Regions from separate parts of the Homo sapiens genome. Here region 2 is linked to region 1. The links are contacts of gene promoters, found by promoter capture Hi-C in human tissues and cell types (Jung and others, 2019). All regions are on one chromosome and are shown on one strand. Each heading gives the region's core, a stretch centred on a gene start or on the middle of the fragment in contact. The rest is flanking DNA. Distances are from core to core; before and after follow the strand shown.

Region 1 (7,894 bases), core at 1,429-3,928:
AAGGTAGGAGTGTGCAAGGCAATTGGGGAAAGGAAGTTTCTGTAACCCTTTCAGAATTGAATGATCTATGGGATACCTGAGCTGAACAATTCAAGTTCTAAATTACTATAAATATATCCAAATCATCCTCTAGATTAAGGATATTCTGTAAATGGGCTAATACGGTCCTTTATAGCATGTAAAGAACAAAAATAAGGAAGGATATAGCTTAAGGCTTCTACCTGTCAAAGCTGATAGCCTATCATATTACACATTTTAGAAAATATTGATCAAATTCAGGATGAAAAAATTAATACATGCATGTATATATAAATAAAAAGCTACTGTAGCAGATGCTGTTGGTACCCTACCCATATTCCTTCATCGCTCGCCTCTAAATGACAAAGGTAAACACCTGCAAATATTGCAAATGCTACAATTCCCTGCTTGAAAACCTTTACTTATGGCTGCAGGCGTGTGCTTAGCTTGCCCCCAGGGCAAGCTGGTAGTGCCAGAGAGCCAATGGGTTCAGAAGCTACCTTCATCATCAGCGATGGGTTTCCTTACCCCTTAATTGGACTAACTCTTTTTTTTTTTTTTTTTTTGGGGGACAGGCTCTCGCTCTGTCACCCAGGCTGCTCTTCAGCAGTGCAGTCTCTTCAGTGGTGCAATCTCACTTCACTGCTGCCTCTGCCTCCTGGGTTCCGGTGATTCTCGTGCCTCAGCCTCCTGAGTAGTTGGGATTACAGGCATGAACCACCATAACTGGCTTTTTTTTTTTTTTGTATTTTTAGTAGAGATGGGGCTTCACCATCATGGCTAGGCTGGTCTTGAACTCCTGACCTCAAGTGATCCACCCACCTCAGCCTCCCAAAGTGCTGGGATCACAGGTGTGAACCACCACACCTGGCTGGACTAACTCTTAATTGCAGAGTTCGTGTGCAATGTCTTTCAGAGTTCCTCATTAGAACTGAACTCAAATTGCCCACTGGAGTCTCTTGCTTGATAAAACACCCTTTATTGACTTTCTTTTCTCCCCAATCTCACTTTCCCACTTCCAGTGGTGCTTTCTAAGATTATCTCTTAAAACAAAAACAAAAACAAACTACTTGCAATTGAATTCTTGTTTCTGAATCTACTTCTGGGGGAACCCAAACTAAGAGAGCCGCTGAAATGGAATTGTATATTGAGAATTTAAGATGAGTCTATGGCATCTGGAATTTATGCAGTTGGAGCTGAATAAAAAATATTTCTTTCAGGAGTCAGGATCTTTGTCTCTGTGACAAAATTTCTTCCACACAAATCACTAAAGCTTTGAACAAAAGATGCGGAAGCTTTGTCTCTGGAAACCACCATTAATTTATGAGGGGAGGATAGGGGTTGTCTTTATTATTCCAGTGCTTTGGATATAGGAAGAAAAAGTCATTAAAGCTAGAAAATCTTCACTAATGGAATGTTTACTTATAAAATTATTCTTAACTCAAATTTTCTTTCCCGCTTAACATTTATTCTACCTCACTCATAATGCACTAGCAGCTAGTGTTAGAATATTTGGTCCAACAATACAAATAAAACTGTAGCTCAATTTTTTTTTTTTTTTTTTTTTTGAGATGGAATCTCACTCTGTCTCCCAGGCTGGAGTGCAGTGGTGCGATCTCAGCTCACTGCAACCTCCGCCTCCTGGGTTCAAGTGATTCTTCTCTCTCAGCCTCCTGAGTAGCTGGGACTACAAGTGCATGCTACCATGCCTGGCTAATTTTTTTGTGTTTTTAGTAGAGACGGGGTTTCACTGTATTGTCCAGGCTGGTCTCGAACTCCTGACCTCTTGGTCCGCTCGCCTTGGCCTCCCAAAGTGCTGGGATTACAGGCATGAGCCACCGCGCCTGGCCAACTGTAGCTCAGTTTCAATAGGAAATCTAAAATCTTGCAAAATAAGCAGCATTTTATTAAATGTATGAAGGTGATGTTGGGGACTTGCTAGAATCAATGCAAAGCTATGGGAAAATAAAGACCTGGTAGAATAAGACAAGATAAAAAGCAAAGGAGAGAAAATGGATGTGGATAATGACCCTGAGAAGAACTTTCCAACACAGTGATCTGATTATCAAAGGATTAAGTGAAGTTCTTGAGAAAATTAGTGATGTCCTCAAATATGTTTACAAAAATTGATATTCTTTCTGATTATTCTGTGAAAGTTAAGCATGAAGGGATGACTATTGGGTTGTATTAGGCTGTACTTTGGGGAAAAATTCTACTCCAGAACATTCTATTTAGATTTTGAGTGACAGAACTGCATTTAAATATTTTCTTTCATAAAATATTTAATCTCAAAGTCTGGCATATAACACCTTTTAAGAGAATCATGAAAACATCCACTTAGTTTAGTAGATTGAAACAAGAAGGAGGCTCATCCCTTGCCTTACAGAGTCTCCTTTGGTTGAAAATCACTTAAACATTGAACTGAGAACATTTGCTGTGTTTCCTGATTTATAGATATGTTTCTAAGAAACATATCTATAACTTCCAAACAGTCCCAGCTGGCTGTAGCTAAGGCTGTGTAATTGATAAGATGCATCTGGTTTCAAGGCACAGATTAAGTACAAGGTCAGGCTCTTGCTGTCGTTGGAGAATCCGGTTGGGGTAGGAGCTAAATCTCAGGACCACTTGCTCTATATATGAGTGCCAAGATAATCTAGAGCAGGGAGAGGCAGAGAGGCAGGCAGCCTGCTGGGCTCTTCCTGCTGTTGAAAACTTACCCGGCCCTTACAGAGGAAATCTTCCTCCTCTCTTCTGCCCTGAATGTTTTCCCAAACATGAAGGTAAGACAATAAATTCATTACTTTTGTAAATGAAGCTATCTTTTCAAATGAACGGGGGTAATATAAATGTAATTTAAACGAAGAGGTGTAATACCTAACTGAAAGACATCAAATAAATAGAAGGCCAGAGGAAAATACAGAAGAAAAAGACCTGGGGGTGATGTTTAGAAATCCTTATTTAAACATATTTAACAGTTCAGCCAAAGTGAATTCCTTTTTCTTATCTTGTGGTGAAATTATAGGTCCAGAGGTCTGGGAATCAGGAATTGGAGACAATGTTTATGAAAGTCCCGATAAAGTCATAAAGAAATACAATAGTACTATTGTTATTTCTTGGGAAAAACTTTCCTCTGGTGTATTTTTTTTTTTTTTTTTTGCTTGTTTGGATTAGGAGCCATGCAGTAGGGTCCTGCGATTTATCTAAGAGCTAATAGAAAAGCAAATTTGCAGGCTTGGAACTTGAGAATTTGAAATCCTGGATGAAAGAGTCAGCATTGTGAGAATAGAAGATATGAGTAGATGGAATAAAACTAAAGGTCTACCAAGTATACATGTTGGCCCAATGCAAAAAGGCCAAATATTAAAAAACAAAACAAAACACAACCAAAAAGCTATTCAACAAAAGATAAGACCAAAGATAGAAATCGCTATCATAGACTAAATCTCTGGAATGCAAAAATAAGTTGAGATTGCTATTCAAATTTTATTATTGTAAATTTTGGTATTTAAACTTTAAAAATGTTGCATTGTAAGACTGTAGGAATAATTTCACAGATCTGTCAGTGGCTAGATTGCTTCCATAGTCACTGTATTGTCCATTGGGGCACCGAATCCAAGCTCGCTCATTATTGGGGTTAGAGGAGGAGCAAGATATGGATCTTGATTAAGCCATGCCTTCTGTGAAATTAAATAATTAAAATTAAACACAAATAACAAAGTTAATTTGTTTAAAGTTATGATGGGCAGTCATAAAAAAGAATGAAATCATGTCCTTTGCAGCAACATGGAGGCAGATAGAGGTCATTATCCTAAGAAAATTAACGCAGGAACAGACAATCAAATACCCCATGTTCTTAATTTTTAAGTGGGAGCTAAATATTGGGTACTCATGGGCATAAAGATGGCAACACTAGACACTGCACTCCAGCCTGGGCAATAAGGTGAGACTCTCTCTCAAAAAAAAAAAAAACAAAAAAAAAACAAGAAAAGAAAATGATGCTCTTCTGAAAGTTATCTAGCCAAAATGTTTTTTCCTAATATTTGTGTTAACTATTAATCTTTTACTTTATTTTACAATAAGAAATCTTAATAATTGCTTTGTGCTTAAAAACATGTTTACAATCATTATTATAATATTTTACTGCTGTAATAATAAATATACTTCTATCCTTTAATTAGTTGACAAAATATCAACAAATAAAGCAATTAATTTTTTAAAAATTTTACATATAGGGGCTTTCCAGCAAAAATTGGGAAGCCTGATAGACAAGTTCTAAAACAACTGTAACACTAAAGCAATTATTTCACTCCAAGTCGCATGTAGAGTTCTTACCTGTATTTGAAAGTGGACATTCATATTTTTACAGTAAACCTGAAGGACATGCTTTGGTGATATGTGACAAAGAAGGGACACTTGTGAAAGCCTTGGGCTATCAAGAAGCTAGAAATGGTTTCTATGTCAGACTTTTTAAGAGGAAGCAATGTTTTGGCCCCACAGCCCCCACGTGAACTAAATTCAGAGAGACAGTCACAGGATTCCCTTTGGTTCTCTCTGTGTTCTTGGATAGGAAATAACTTGGATCTGAGGTGTTGGAGAAGGATGTCAGGGACAAGGGACTTCCCTCGGAGCTGGCTGTGGCCCAGCCATTTGTTCCGTCCCTCCAGGAGAGAGCTGAGCTTGGGGCCTGTGAATCTAGGGAATGGTCGTCACAGTGCCCAAGCACAGTGATGGTCAAGCACAGTAATGTCTCAAATCAGGATTGTAGCTGGGACATACTGGAAGAAGGAGGTAGAGCTAATGCTCATTCATTGATGATAAAGAGGAGAAGATAATTCAGGGGAATGTAGTTCCAGCTTAGCTACATTGACACAGAACAAAAATACCACACACTTTTTCTTTCTTTCTTTTTTTTTTTTTTTTGAGACAAAGTCTCACTCTGTTGCCCAGGCTGGAGTGCAGAGGTACGATCTCTGCTCACTCCAACTTCCGCCTCCTGGGTTCAAGCGATTCTTCTGCCTCAGCCTCCTGAGTAGCTGGGGCTACAGGCGTGCGCCACCATGCCTTGCTAATTTTTGTATTTTTTTTTTTTTTTTAGTAAAGATGGGGTTTCACCATATTGGCCAGGCTGGTCTTGAACTCCTGACCTCATGATCCACCTGCCTTGGCCTCCCAAAGTGCTGGGATTACAGGCATGAACCACCACGCCCGGCCCCACATACTTCTTCAACCAAGCAATTCTTTTATAGAGTCAGTTCAGATGTATGTCTATCACTGTCATTCACATGATTTATTTGTGTTTGTTCTATCTCTCTTGTTCATTTATAAGGTATTTTTTCCAAAGGTAATTATCCTAAGGCTAGCCAAATTTCAAGAAATGCTTTTGGTTAGTAGATTCACTTTGTATAACATGAACAGAACTGGTCTTGTAATAAGCAGACCTTGATGGGTTATAATGAGTATGTATATGAAGAAGGTGATGACAAAGGCATCCATGATGATAAAAAGTATATTTCCTAAAATTTCATTGAAATTCTTTATTTTAAAAAATGCTTTTAAATTTGAGACAAGATCTTGCTCTGTTGCCCTGGCTGGAGTGTAGTGGTACAATTATGGCTCACTGCAGCTGCTACATCCTGGGCTCAAGTGATCCTCCCACCTTAGTCTTCTGAGTAGCTGGGACTACAGGTGCCCGCCACCATGCCTGGCTAATTTTTGTATTTTTTGTTGCAACAGGCTGGCCTCAAATTCCTGGGCTCAAGTGATCCTACCACTTTGTCCTCCCCAAATGCCAGGATTACAGGCATGAGCCACCAAACCTGGCTGAAATTATTTTAAAACACCTGTGACAGAATGTTAGAAATAATTATTTTCATTATCCACATTTTGGCTGAGAGTCAAAGGCCAAGAACAAGTACTCAAGATTTTTTGAAATTTTATGGTTTTTTTTGGAAATTTTATTCATTTAGTTATTTTATTTGTATACATTTAAGGGGTACAAGTGCAATTTTGTTACATGGATATATTGGGTAGTGTTGAAGTCTGGGCTTTCAGTGTATCTATCTTCCAAATAATGTACATTGTACCCATTAAGTAATTTCTCATCACTCTTCCCCTTTCTATCCCCAACTCTTCTGAGTCTCCAATGTCTATTATTCCATACTTTTTGTCCATGTGTACACATTATTTAGCTCCTACTTGTAAGTGAGAATATGAGGTACTTGATTTTATGTTTCTAAGTTGTTTCACTTAATATAATGGCCTCTAGTTCCATCCATGCTGCTGCAAAAGACATGGTTTCATTCTTTTTTAAAAAATTGAACAGTATTTCATTGTGTATATACTGCATTTTCTTTATCCAATCATCTGTTGTTGGACACTTAGGTTGCTTCTATATCTTTGCTATTGTGAATAGTGTTGAGATAAACATACGAGTACGGGTATCTTTCTGATATAATGATTTCTTTTCCTTTGGGTAGATACCCAGTAGTGGGATTGATGGATCCGATGGTAGTTCAATTTTTAGTTCTTTGAGAAATCTCCATACTGTTTTTTATGGAAGTTGTACTAATTTACATTCCCACCAATAGTATATATTGGTGGGAATATATACTATTCCCTATTCTCACTTATCTCTGCATTCCTACCAACAACTGTTATTTTTTGACATTTTTAAAGAGAGATGGTGTCTTGCTCTGTTATCCAGGCTGGAGAGTAATGGTGCAATCATAGCTCACTGCACCTTTGAATTCCTGGGCTCAAGTGATCCTCCTGCTTCAGCCTCCTGAGTAGCTGGCACTATCTGGGCATGTGCCACCATGTGCAAATATATATATATGTATATTTTGTATATTTATATATTTTAAGATGGAGTCTTGCTCTGTCACCCAGGCTGGAGTGCAGTGGCATGATCTCGGCTCACTGTAATCTCCACCTCCTGGGTTCAAGCGATTCTCCTGCCTCAGCCTCCCAAGTAGCTGAGACTACAGGTGCGTGCCAACATGCCTGGTTAATTTTTTGTATTTTTAGTAGAGATGGGGTTTTACCGTGTTAGTCAGGATGGTCTTGATCTCCTGACCTCATGATTTGCCCGCCTCAGCCTCCCAAAGTGTTGGGATTACAGGCGTGAGTCACTGCGTCCGACCGCCCCAAATAATTTTTTAAGAATTATTTTTTGTAGAGACAGAGTCTTACTATGTTGCCTAGGCTGGTCTCAAACTTCTGGCTTCAAGCAATCCTCCTGCCTTGTCCTCTCAAAGTGTTGGGATTACAGGTGTGAGCCATCACATTCAGCCAGTTTTTTTACTTTTTAATAGTAGCCATTCTGACTGTGTAAGATGATATCTCCTTGTGGTTTTAATTTAATTCTCTGATGATTAGTGATGTTGAGCACATTTTCATATGCTTGTGAGCCATTTGTATGTCTTTGAAAAATGTCTATTCATGTCCTTTGCCCACTTTTTAATGTTTTTGTTGTTGTTGTTTTTGTTGTTATCATTGTTTGAGTTTCTTGTAGATTCTGGATATTAGTTCTCTGTCAGATGCATAATTTGCAGATATTTCCTCCCATTCTGTAGGTTGTCTGTTCACGCTGTTGATTATTTCTTTTGTTGTAGAGAAGCTTTTAATTTTAATTAAGTTCCATTTGTCTAATCTTGTTTTTGTTGCTTGTGCTTTTGAGGCCTTAGTTATGAATTCTTGGCTTAGACCAATGTCCAGAAGAGTTTTCCCTAGGTTTTCTTCTAGTGTTTTTATAGTTTCAGGTCTTACATTTAAGTTTTCAATCCATGTTGAGTTGATTTTTGTATAAGGTGAGAGACAGGAGGACCTTCACATTTTAAAGTGAGATGCTAGACATTCTATGCAATATTACAAAGAG
Region 2 (7,894 bases), core at 1,527-4,026, 180 kb after region 1:
TTCCTGCCATGGGATGATACAGCAAGAAGGCTCACCAGATTCTCGTACTTTGGTATTAAACTAGGCGTCCAGGATATTAAGAAGTAAGTATATATTGTTTATAAATTACCCAGTCTGTGGCATTCTGTTATAGCATCACAAAATGGACTAAAACAAATCTTATGTGAATAAGGAATTTCTTACACCTTTCCCCATATAAACCCAGTATGAAGATTTCCTTTTCCCTTGCAATGACAGCAGCAGCCAGTGATGTAGGGACAGGAGGTTAGAGAACTCTCTAAGGACTGAATGCACAGCAGCCATTGCTGTGGACAATAAGGTAAGGCAGGATAATACACCTCAAAGCTTAATACAATGACCAAGCTTTGGTTAATGTTTCTTGATTAAAAATCCTCGAGAGATATAAGCTATAAATTGCTAATATGAAAGTGTAAACAATAGCTACTTTTCTGTATGTCATCAAGCATGCTGCACTTTAAAATTGAGAGAATGGTTTGAAAGTTATCCCTTTAGGAATTTAGAAAGAGCTTAAGAATATAATCTTGGCCAGGCATGGTGACTCATACCTGTAATTTGAGCACTTTGGGGAGCCTCGGTTGGAGGATCACTTGAGCCCAGGAGTTTGAGACTAGCCTGGGTAACATGGTGAAACCCCGTCTCGACAAAAAATAATTAAAAAAAAGTAGCCCACCCACCATGGTGGTGCGTGCCTGTCATCCCAACTACTCAGGAGGTTGAGACCAAGCGCGGGGTGGGGTGGGGGGCGGGGGTTGGGGAGATTACTTGAGTCCAGGAGAGAAGCTGCAGTGAGCTGTGATTGCATCACTGCACTTCAGCCAGGGAGACAGAGCGAGACCCTGTCTCAAAAGAAAAAAAAAAAATTAATCCCTCTAGAATTTGCAAATGATTTAAAAAATGATTTCACTCTCAAGTGATAGAAAATTAAATTCCCTGTGGATAAGTAATTTACTAGTATGGTATTTCTCAGAGCCTCTTTTATTAGGCATATCTAGCTTTGCTACTGACAGTTGCTGAGAAAAGAACAGCCTATCTTTATAATTTGGGGTAGTGAGAGAAATAACAGAGCCCTTTACCTCTGAGGACGTTACCTGGTGGCTTGGCGTCATGATAATTGGGGCCTTCTGCTTTTTGGAGCTCATTATACCTTGGCCAGAACTTTTAGGACTAGATTTTAAGTGTCAGCTCCTGGACCTGTAAGTCATGTTAGTGAGAAATGAGACATGAGACATCGTGTTTTTTTTTTTGTTTTTTTTTTTAACTGAAGAACTCACTTTTTATGGCAGCTAAACAATTCAAAGGAGGATACTTTCATTATCTCAACTTCTTATAATGAATGACTTGGATCTCATAATTGCCCAGGTAAATAATCTTAGAAGAAAAAGTTATTAGTATTATATTTTTAAGGATTAAAATACAATTTCATTGCCTCTGAATGATTCTCTTACATTTTGAATTTTTTTTCCTTTTTTAAAAAAGAAATAAACATGTTCCCATTGTCTTTTGTTTACTTTTATAGGATTAAAAACATACTTTTGATTCCTGCTTTTGGTAGTTTCAATGGCCTCTAGATGTGCCATAAAAATGTGAATATTCTCATGTTACAGTTAGAGACTTTAGAATCCTAGAAATGGTCATTAAGTTTTATAGAAATACTTTGTTAGGTGAAACTGTTCAAAAACATTTAAATCAAAAAGTGATAGTAAAATATTAGATACAGTTTCAAATAGTAAATTTTCTGGTTACCAATAGTGTTCAAATATCATAGGAATATTTGCTGGAAAAGAAGCAAATAAAAAATAAAGTAGATCTAAAACAAAACATAACTTTCATTGCTGGTGCTAGTATTCATATATGTAACTCTTCATCTGCTTCTGTAGTGCACAGAAATGAGTACAGAAGCTTAGAAAGATAAACCTGGCACTCATTTCCATAGTTTGTACTTACTAAAAGAGGAAGTAGATATATATCCATTAATATTAGAGATTTTTTTACCAGTAAGATTATTTAATCCATCTGAGCCTTAGTTACATCATCTGTAAGATTGTTAGTTGTATAGATTAAGTGAATAATGCAAAGAAAATATGTTGTACCAAGTTAGCATTATTTGTTATCTGGCATTTTTGCTGTTATTGCTCTTGTTGACATAATTATACCAAAACAGCCTAATGAGACCACATCATTCCAGCAACTTTCTGCTCATTGAGGTCTTAATATTATGATTTCTGCTTTTAAGAAAATGCTTGTAAGCTTTGTAAAATGTTGGAACCAAACAATCTTAACATAGGGCTAATTTTAAGAGAAAGTGTTATGTATGTAATGTGTAGTTTTTGTTCTAGCTGAGTTTTAAGGTTCTTTTTATCACTTATTTTAAGCAATTTGGTTATGTTGCAGCTTGGTGTACTTTTCTTCATGTTTCTTTTGTTTGAAGTTTAGTAAGTTGCTTGAATATGTTAATTTATAATTTTTATCAAATTTGGAAATATTTTAGCCAGTATGTTTCCAATTTTATTTTTATCTCCTCTTCTTTCTTCTGCTTCACTTCATCAGGGACTCCAGTGATACGTATAGTAGGCCACTTGAAGTTGACTTATAACTCGCTGATGCTCTGTTAATTTTTCATCCTTTTGTATTTTATTTTGGATATTTTCTATTGCTTTGTCTCCAATATTTCTTTCAGCATTGTCTAAACTGATGTACCACCTGGTGTATTTTTTGTTTTTCTGTCCTCAGATGGAGTCTCACTCTGTTGCCCAGGCTGGGGTGCGGGGGTGCCATCTCATCTCACTGCAGCCTACACCTCCTGGGTTCAAGCGATTCTCCTGCCTCAGCCTCCCCAGTAGCTGGGATTACAGGCGCCCACCACCATGCCTGGCTAATTTTTATATTTTTAGTAGCGGCGGGGTTTCACCATGTTGGCCAGACTGGTCTCAAACTCCTGACATCAAGTGATCCATCTGTCTTGGCCTCCCAAAGTGCTGGGATTACAGGTGTGAGCCATTGTGACTGGCCTGTATTTTTTATTTCACACAATTGTTTTCATTTCTAGAAGTTTTATTTGGAGACCTTATATATACCTTTTGTGTCTCTATCTAATTGGATCAATTTTTCCTCTAGCTTCTTTAGTATCTGTAATAGAGTTATAAAGACTGTTTTAATGTTCTTGTCTATTAATTCTATCATCTGTGTCATTTCTTAATATGCTTCCATTTGTTTTTTCTTATTATTGTTGATTGTATTTTCTGCTTTTTTGAATGCTTTCCCTCCATTAGATAGTAGATATTGTGAATTTTATTTTGTTGGGTGTTAGATACTCTTGAGCTTTGTTCTGTGATTCACTTGTTATTTTGAAACAATTTGATCCTTTCGAAGCTTGCTTGTAAGTTTTGTAAAATGTAGGGACCAGACAATCTTAATATAAGGCTAATTTGGTATATTCTTTTGAGTATATCTGATGTCCCATGAAATATAAAGCTTTCCACTCTGGCTGGTTGAAAATATGAGTTATTCCTAAACCTGTGTGAACTTTGGAGATTATTGATTCTTTTCTTTTTGCATGGTTTGTTTCCCAGCTTCAGTTTTCCTTATATGCATATCCTAGTAGGTACTCAACTGAATTCTAGAGGGGAACACTCTGGAGATCTTCAGAGTTTTCTCTGTATGCACCTCTCTCCTGTCCAGTATTCTTCCACTTAAACTGTATCCACTTTGCCATTCCCAGACTCCCAGCTCCATCTCTCCAACTCAAGGATACCTCCAGCCTCCTTCTGGTTTCTCTTTCCTGTGCTGAAACTTAGAAACTTTCTCCAGAAAGTAAGCTTGGGCAATCATTGGGGCTAACCTCATAGTTTTTCCCTCTCTCAGAGATCAATTCCTGCATCAATGGTGTCCAGTGTCTGAAAGCTGATATTTCTTAGACTATAAGAATCTGGGTTGCTTTTTTTTTTCAGTTGTTTCAGTGGAAGGGTAAATTCAGTTCCTGTTACTTTATCTTTGTCAGCATCAGAAGTCTGCCAAGATTCTTATATGTATTTATGCTGTTCTAGTCTTATGAACTTCTGCTACCTATTTTGCTCCCAGGAATAGTAGCGTATAAGTTGGGAATATGTTTCCCTTCCCCTCCCACCAAAACCCCAAATAATGAACCCCCAAACAAAAAACAAACTCAGAAAGCACTCAACAGTTGCCTAAATCTATAATGTTTTTGTTTTCTTGTACAAAGCTCACCTGGAGACAGGTAGCCTGGGCTAAAACAGCTCTTCAGTAATGTATTATGGATCTATGCTCTTTTTCTTTTTTACTATCTTTAGCATGTTATTTGACCTTTAGTTACAAGATAACTGCTACATATCCAGAGCTCATGTTTGCATTCCAGGCAGGAAGAAGGTAAAATACAAAACTTTCTTCATGTGGGAGTTTACATTTTCAATTTGGAAAGAGAAGACATTCACAGTGAATTTCATTCACATATTGTTGGTAAGAACTTGGTCACATAGCCACTCTTCACTGCAGTGTAGGTTGGGAAACCATGTATTTTAGTAGTTTCAATGCTTCTCAAAAGAGGAAGGTAAGGAAGAAAAGGACTGTGAATATCTTTCAAATAGAGCATCTATGGTATCTATTAGAATAATAATTCTGTCATGTTCCCAACGTTTAAGGATACGTAAGATTGCCACAAGCCTAAATCTGGAACTATGACTAAAGATCTGTGGGAGCCAGAAGTAGCCACTTACTTCCCATGTTTGATAACATTTTTCTTCTGTTAGTCAGTCTTCCATATGTAAATCATGAACAGTGAATGAGAGTAGAGGCAGGATGATAAAATTAGTTTGGGTTATAAAAGATAAATTCAAATAGAGACTATACTTTATATTATTGTCCTAATTTATTAGTTTTACTCCATGTTGAATTATCATTTTATTTAATTCAGAAGCTCTCAAAGGTATTCATTTTTTCAACTCTTATTTAAGCTTTTGGGCTTCTTGATCAAAGATGTACAGATGCATATATTCATGTATACCTGCGAGTATGTGCATGCATACACACACACAATAACTTTGATGCTGTTTTGATAATAAAATTTTTGGTAACACATTTTCTTTGTTTAAAAAATCCTAGTGTAATGATATACAAGGAGAACCACACATAGGCTAGCTGATGAAACATATGTTTTAGTGTGAGAAGCAAGATATCAAGGGATAGGCTCTAAGCATAATTATTAATGATAATCTTTAATGTGCTCTTTCCAGGCTGGGGCTGGTTAGTAACAAGACTTTTGTTTTTCTTTTTGAGGATTATAAGTGTGAGGTGAGAGCGGAATTATTTGGGAAAATATAGGAGTTTGGAAAAAAATGCAGTGAAATGAGAAAGTTCGATGGTTGCTGGTTGAGGACTTTGGGAGACAAATGTCTAACTGAGATTGGACTTTATTTTTAAAATATGAAAATTATCAGACATATATAAAATAGAGATAATTGTATAATGAATGATTGTATATGTTTACATCCTAGTTTTAATAATTATCAAGTTATTGCTCATCACGTTTTATTTCTATCCCTATTTACTTCATTCGTGTATTATTTTGAAGCAAATACCAGATATTATATAATTCATTCCTAAATATTGTACATTTTTTTTCCTAAAAGGTAAGGGTTCAAAAGAGTATGCCAAGAAAAAATAAGACCTAGTCAGAGCTCAATTTTCTCATAGTATCATTATATTTAGAGTTTGTTTAAATAAGATCAAGTTATGACTCATCTATTGCAATTAGTTGATATGTCTCCTTTTTTTTTTTTTTTTTTTTGAGATGGAGTCTCGCTCTGTTGCCCAGGCTGGAGTGCAGTGGCGTGATCTCAGCTCACTGCAAGCTCTGCCTCCTGGGTTCACACCATTCTCCTGCCTCAGCCTCCCGAGTAGCTGAGACTACAGGTGCCCACCACCACGCCTGGCTAATTTTTTGTATTTTTTAGTAGAGACGGGGTTTCACCGTGTTAGCCAGGATGGTCTTGATCTCCTGACCTCGTGATCCACCCACCTCGGCCTCCCAAAGTGCTGGGATTACAGGCGTGAGCCACTGCACCTGGCCAATATGTCTCTTAAATCTCTTTAAATATATATATTTTAATTGGGACTTTATTAATTTGATTTCTATGTAAAGAGTGAAAAAATTTCTCCCTCATTGTCAAATTGAATCATCAATACAATCTAAATAATTTAGTTGTGCTATTTGGAACATATTAGTTTTTGATGCAATGAAATAATCATAGTATGAGAAAAAAAGCAGTATCAAGGAAAAGAAAAAAGTAAGTTTAAAGACATCAATACTGTACAATTCAGCTATAAACACTTATAAAGACAAATTGATACAATCTAAGAAGGAATTCCTTAAAAAGCACGCATGGATGTAAGTCTGTATACCTTATTTGCATTATAAATTGGCAAAGTATCTCATTGTACAGTTATGGTATTTAGACAGATTTGTGGTTGTAAAGTTGGCACTTAAATATTTATCTTGTCTGTCAAGAAATATCACTTAAAATTTATTAAATAAGTACTATGCACTTTTAAATGTATACAGTTTTATTTAGGTATTGAATTAGCAATTCTCACAGGGGCCATTTTGTTTCAATTTGTGCTGACTTCATTGTTGGATATAACTTTCTCCACTGCAGGAATATCACCAGGCTAATTACTAGGAAATCTCTCTCTTTTTTTTTTGGTATATGGAGTAATATGTATGGATGAAAGGACCTTAAAATTGGAGGATTTTTCAATCTAAAATTAGATGCTCATACAAGAGAACCTCTTTCCTACTATAGACTCCCTTCTCCTTCCCCTAATCCCCATCCTGTTCTTAGCAGATGGTGACTGGGCTTATGCTAAAAACTTCCAGGGACAGAGACTTTGCTACTTGTACACAGGAAGACTATTCCATTTTGACGCAACTCAAATTACTAGAAAGTTCAACCTTATGAGACAATTTCTTTAATTTTGAAAATCATATCTTTGGCCATACTTCTGTTCTTTGTAGTAGGAAAAATTTATGTTCTCTCTTCTGTATAGTGGTATTTAAAATATTTAAAAAGATTTTCAGAAATGCTCTACACCTCAAAGATTTTTTATTTTCTAGGGAAAAAGTTTCTAAATGATCTCTTAATAGTTCCTTTAATAATTTGATTTCCAACTCTCTTACTGTCTTTCTCACTTTCTCTGAATGATTGATAGTGTTTAGAGGCCCCTCTATGTTATCAATAACTGATCAGAATATTTCATACTGATACGAACATCAAATTTCTCTTAGTTTAGCCTAAGATGTAAGGTTTTAAACTTTGCAGTTCAATTGCATTGTGTTTCTATGCTCAAATTAACTCATAGATTTTTTTACTTGAACTGCCAAAATATAAGACCCTCCTTAATTTATATTTGAGTGAAAGAGATTTTAAATCCAATTAAAATCAACCCATCAAAAAGTGGGTGAAGGATATGAACAGACACTTCTCAAAAGAAGACATTTATGTGGCCTACAAACATATGAAAAAAAGCTCATCATCACTGGTCATTAGAAAAATGCAAATCAAAACCACAATGGGATGCCATATCATGCCAGTCAGAATGGCGATCATTAAAAAGTCAGGAAACAACAGTTGTTGGAAAGGATGTGGAGAAATAGGAACTCTTTTACACTGTTGGTGGGAGTGTAAGTTAGTTCAACCATTGTGGAAGACAGTGTGGCAATTCCTCAAGGTTCTAGAACCAGAAATACCATTTAACCCAGCAATCCCATTACTGGGTATATACCCAAAGGATTATAAATCATTCTACTATAAAGACACATGCACACATATGTTTATTGCGGCACTATTCACAGTAGCGAAGA

Evidence for each region. Contacts are between HindIII fragments. The study calls those that stand out against the background at their distance.
Region 2: a contact is called between a fragment that was not itself captured here and the fragment with the promoter of C7 in region 1, in 2 of the 25 tissues and cell types used here (H1 embryonic stem cells and IMR-90 fibroblasts).

The regions. Positions count from the first base shown.
Region 1 is chr5:40,906,819-40,914,712 of GRCh38, forward strand. C7 (complement C7) reads left to right here and starts at 2,679. Exons shown (of 18, transcript NM_000587.4): 1 at 2,679-2,798. The coding sequence starts at 2,793. It also overlaps the pseudogene RNU7-161P. The HindIII fragment of the contact is 9,186 bases long and covers 1-7,894 here.
Region 2 is chr5:41,082,951-41,090,844 of GRCh38, forward strand. LOC105374739 (a long non-coding RNA gene) reads left to right here. Exons shown (of 6, transcript XR_001742650.2): 3 at 23-83. Among named protein-coding and RNA genes, the nearest start is that of MROH2B, 16 kb to the left of the region's middle. The HindIII fragment of the contact is 3,271 bases long and covers 1,142-4,412 here.